Regions from separate parts of the Homo sapiens genome. Here region 1 is linked to region 2. The links are contacts of gene promoters, found by promoter capture Hi-C in human tissues and cell types (Jung and others, 2019). All regions are on one chromosome and are shown on one strand. Each heading gives the region's core, a stretch centred on a gene start or on the middle of the fragment in contact. The rest is flanking DNA. Distances are from core to core; before and after follow the strand shown.

Region 1 (2,700 bases), core at 13-2,512, 1.5 Mb before region 2:
AAAAAAAACAGCCCCATCAAAAAGTGAGCAAAGGATATGAACAGACACTGCTCAAAAGAAGACATTTATGCAGCCAACAAACATGAAAAAATGCTCATCATCACTGGTCATTAGAGAAATGCAAATTAAAACCACAATAAGATACTATCTCACACCAGCTAGAATGACGATCATTAAAAAGTCACGTAACAACAGATGCTGGAGAGGATGTGGAAAATTGGAACGCTTTTACACTGTTGGTGGGAGTGTAAATTAGTTCAACCATTGTGGAAGACAGTGTGGCGATTCCTCAAGGATCTATACTAGAAATACCATTTGACCCAGCCATCCCATTACTGGGTATACACCAAAAGGATTGTAAATCATGCTGCTATAAAGACACATGCACACGTATGTTTGTTGCAGTACTATTCACAATAGCAAAGACTTGGAACCAACCCAAATGTCCATCAATGATAGACTGCATAAAGAAAATGTGGCACATATACACCATGGAATACTATGCAGCCATAAAAAAAGATGAGTTCATGTCCTTTGCAGGGACATGGATGAAGCTGTAAACCATCATTCTCAGCAAACAATCACAAGAACACAAGACCAAACACCGCACATTCTCACTCATAAGTGGGAGTTGAATAATGAGAATACATGGACACGGAGGGGAACATCACACACTGCGGCCTGTTTGGGGGTGGGGAGCTAGGGAAGGGATAGCATTAGGAGAAATACCTAATGTAGATGACGGGTTGATGGGTGCAGCAAACCACCATGGCACGTGTATACCTATGTAACAAACCTGCACGTGCTGCACATGTACCCCATAACTTAAAGTATAAAAACCAAAAAGAAACATCATACTCATAAGCTGTCACTCTCCATTTTCCCCCATTCCCTGCACCACCTCCAGACTTAAGCAATCACTAATCTACTTTCTGTCTCCAGTTAGCCTACTCTGAACATTTCACATAATCTCTAAACTATTTTTGCAACCCTTTTGGAAGTTTAAAATTGTCTCAAAAAGCTGTATTTACTTTTCTGTTCTTTTTGGAAATATATTTTTGTGAATAATTCGTTCTTGTGTTTAACAAAATATTTAAAATGTTACATAACTAATGTAAAAACAGAATAGTTTGCATGTGATATTTTTTGACTCAGGAGCCAGCATCTTCAATATCATACTGTATTGTCACACAATGCACAAGTCTTAACTTATTTCTTTCTACATCTGCTCCTGTGTATAAGAGAGTTTATGGCCTATATTAGGTATTTAGTAGATTTTTGTTGAATGAATACCAACATATATGTATATATAGATAAATGAATATGTGAATGAATCATTTCACATTATATAGGCATAAAATTGGTTTAAGTAGGCTTTCAAAATCAGTTCATTTTATGAATTTTTAAAAATAATTTCAGCATCATTCATTCTTTATTTACAATCAGAACATTTTAAATTTTAATGCTGGCTCTGCTCTTTTTAACTTTTTTGATCAAATGATCTAATCTTATAGGTAAGCCTCACTTAATTTACCTAAAAGTAACAATGATAATATATTCCTACACCAACTCATGTCATTGTTGTACAGATCTTGTGAAATGATGTACTTTCTAAAGACTCGTATAGAAAATTATTATAATATATGAAGAGCTGTAACTTGGGAGATATATTTTCATATGATGATATGAACTATTTTCTAACATCGTTAATGCATTCCTATGTGAATCTGCTCAGAGTATACAACAGTAATAAATAGTTAAGTTTCCTTGAGTAATATAAAACCATTGTCAGACTTATCTGGCTGGTCCAGATGGATGTTAAAGAAGATTCTTTCCATAGAAGAGTTTTCATTTACACATGTGAGTTCCCATTGATGTCAAAGCAAATATCAACCAAGAAAAGAAGCTCTTAAAACTAACTTCTCAGATGTCTAGCACAGGGACTCACAAGAAAGAAGGATAAAATAAAATATAAAAATAAGTCTCACAGTGCCTTAGAAACAAGTAGACTTAAGTAAAAAACATTTTAGGAAAAATGGTCTCTGCCATAAATCAGAATTAAAGGTATAAGGAAAGTTAAATTCAACAACAAAGACAAATCAATTTAACTCCAACTGCTATCTAAAACATACATGAGGAGTAGAATATGAAGCTCTTGCTTAGTTTCAATCACACAACAAAGCAAGGCTTATTAAGGCTTCCCAGAAAGTGTCAGGGTTATTATGGCTTCTCAGAAAGCAATGGCAAGGCAGACTTCAAAGAAGATGGCCTAGGTCGCCAAGCAACTATCCATATAAAAATGGCATAACAATGAAAAGACCAAAAATTATTATGGGCCTAACATAGTCTCAGTGTATCCTGAATGAGAACCTGGATTAGGCAAAAATAAGGAAGAATAAAAGGAAGTAATATTTTTAGTATTGTATAAAGTTATTATATAATGTTTTAAAGCCATATGTTCAAACTTGAAAACTTTTCAGGCACTTCAAATCGGTTGTTTTCCTCATTGAGTAAGTCATTTTTGGCCATAAATCATGTATTTACAAATTCACATTATTTTGCTGAAAAGAGGGAGGGGGACTTTGGATTTTATTTAATTGAATGTATCACAGAATTCTGAGCTCCTGTGAAAACAAAACGATTAAGCTATTAAGCATCAAGAGATACAGATAAAGAGAAATAAATTTCTACTAGTGATGA
Region 2 (2,700 bases), core at 151-2,650:
GTCACATGGACTTGGTAGACGTATAAGTAATGGTAATTCTTTTAACTTCCCGCACAACATTCCACTGTGATCACCCCATATCTTAAATATAAATTCTACCACTAACCCTGTAGATTGCCAGTGTTTCCTGGTTTCCAGAAGGTCACAGCCATACAGGCAATGTATTAGAAAAGAGGTAACCAGTGCTCTTAAGAGTCTGAAAAGCAACCTCAATTTATTCAAATAACACAGAATATTTTTATTCAAAGGGCCATTGAAAGGAGAACATGTTTATTTGGACATCTTCCTTGTAGGTGGTCTGAGAGGGAAGCCCATGATAACCACTATGTTTTTATATGTTACATACTTTGCCAGTATTTTAGAATGCACTTGTTAAAGGATCTGAACTTTATTGGATTCATCACTCAGTATTCCTCAACTATTGTTTCTAGTATCTGACTCCACACTCTCTATAAGAAGAATGCTATAAAAAGATTAGAAATCACCAGGCACAGTGGCTCATGCCTGTAATCCCAGCACTTTGGGAGGCCGAGGCGGGTGAATCACCTGAGGTCGGGAGTTCAAGACCAGCTTGACCAACATGGAGAAACCTCATCTCTACTAAAAATACAAAATAAGCCAGGCATGATGGCACATGCCTGTAATCCCAGCTACTCAGGAGGCTGATGCAGGAGAAACACTGGAACCCGGGAGCGGAGGTTGAAGTGAGCTGAGATCATGCCATTGCACTCCAGCCCGGGCAACAAGAGTGAAATCCCATCTCGAAAGAAGAAAAGAAAAGAAAAAAAAGAAAAGAAAAGAAAAGAAAAGAAAAGAAAAGAAAAGAAAAGAAAAGAAAAGAAAAGAAAAGGAGAAAGAAAGAAGGAAGGAAGGAAGGAAGGAAGGAAGGAAGGAAGGAAGGAAGGAAGGAAGGAAGGAAGGAAGGAAGGGAAAGAAAAGAGAAGAAAGCAAGAAGAAAAGGAAAAGATTACAAGTCATGTCTAGAAAATCATCCTAGTGATAAATGTAGCCTGAAATATGTTACTGTCTATTAAAATTGCCAAATATTATTCTAGATAAATGCTCACTCCTTTATTCTCAACAATACTGCCACCAGTATTTGTCAACAATACTGCCCCAGTAGGGACCGAGACCCGCAAGAAACTCAATATTCTTGGCTTTTCTTACCTCTAATGTAGAAGCAGAGTTTGAGTTAAGCAATCTCTCAGGTTCTATAGGATCACTTCCATAACCCATCTCTGATGATAAACATCTCTGAAGGTCAGGAGGGGGTTTAAGAGTCTCATGAGGATGCAAGTCAGGGAGAGGGCTAAAGAAACACTTTTTCTGAGACATCTCCCTGCACAGAACTCTGCTTGTGTGAGCTCAAGGCTTCTCTATCTCTTGGTGTTCTACACTCAGAACTCAGGTATCCGCTCCCCAGCTGGCAGTTCCCTCTCCTAGAATGAAGGATAATAGTCAGTAAACAACTAAAGATCATTAAACTAAACAACTAAAGATTGCCCGATAGTGGGATGGAAACAGCGGGAAAAGTGGAGTCAGACTATCCAGAACCAGGCTCTCATTCCCGGATTTTTGAAGGAAAAGGAACTAAGTGAACTAGTTGCCAGGACAACCTGCTGTCGGGGAGCGGGGGTGAAGAAAGAAATGGGTGACCTGTGGTTATTCCTGCTCCTGCCCCTCTCAGCCTTCCATGGAGTCAAAGGCTGTTTAGAATGTGACCCCAAATTTATAGAGGATGTTGGCTCCTTGCTGGGAAATCTGATACCTTCAGAAGTCCCCGGCCGAACTCAGCTGCTTGAACGGCAGATTAAGGAGATGATTCATTTAAGCTTCAAGGTCTCCCACAGTGACAAGAGGCTTCGGGTGTTGGGTGAGGGAAGCTTGAGTTCCTGAGAGTCCAGGGGCTTAAACGGAGAAGGGAGGCAAGGAAGAGAACACCTGGGTCTACATAACTTCCTGCATAGATGTAATTATTCCCCTACATGTACCTTTACTCTCCCTCTCTAGCTGTTCAGCAGGTTGTTAAGTTGAGAACATGGTTGAAGAATGAATTTTATAAACTGGGCAATGAAACATGGAAAGGTGAGGTACTGTTTCAATGTTAAAAGTTTGTATTGCTCAAGCAAGCCTCAGAAAATTTGGCTGGGGAAAACAAAGATAAAAACAGACATAATTAACTTCTGAAGGGAAGAGCTACTTCTATTTTTTGACACCCCTTCCACTCCCTCTTAGGTGTCTTTATCTATCAAGGCAAGCTTCTCGATGTCTGCCAAAACCTGGAATCCAAACTGAAAGAATTACTAAAGAACTTCTCTGAAATTGGTAAGTAAAACTTTCTATATAACAGCACTGAAGTTATATGAAGGGAATAGAAAATGCGGGATGAGGGAAGAAATGCAAGTTCATAATAGAGTTATTTAGAATGGGTGGAGAGGTAACTGGAACTTAAAGGGTAAACAAAGACTACTTGGGTATAAATATGGCAAACTGTAGCTGGTTTTAAACTCATTAGAACTTTCTGATTCTCTTCTAGCTTGTTCTGAAGATTGCAGTGAGTACAGTACATGTGACGCCTTGAGGTTTCAGCCCATATTTTCCCATCTCCTTTGCTCTATATGGCCCTATCTCTCCCACCTGTTACACTGGGAAACCAATTCCTAGAGCTGTGGTTACAAGGGGTAACGTCAACAATACCTG

Evidence for each region. Contacts are between HindIII fragments. The study calls those that stand out against the background at their distance.
Region 1: a contact is called between a fragment that was not itself captured here and the fragment with the promoter of IZUMO3 in region 2, in 1 of the 25 tissues and cell types used here (dorsolateral prefrontal cortex).

The regions. Positions count from the first base shown.
Region 1 is chr9:26,020,626-26,023,325 of GRCh38, reverse strand. No RefSeq gene overlaps it. Among named protein-coding and RNA genes, the nearest start is that of LINC03106, 45 kb to the left of the region's middle. The HindIII fragment of the contact is 5,502 bases long and covers 1-2,700 here.
Region 2 is chr9:24,544,597-24,547,296 of GRCh38, reverse strand. It overlaps IZUMO3 (IZUMO family member 3), which reads left to right and starts at 1,400. Exons shown (of 7, transcript NM_001365008.2): 1 at 1,400-1,873; 2 at 2,011-2,085; 3 at 2,236-2,325; 4 at 2,537-2,554. The coding sequence starts at 1,648. RefSeq lists an enhancer at 1,751-2,700. The HindIII fragment of the contact is 4,602 bases long and covers 1-2,071 here.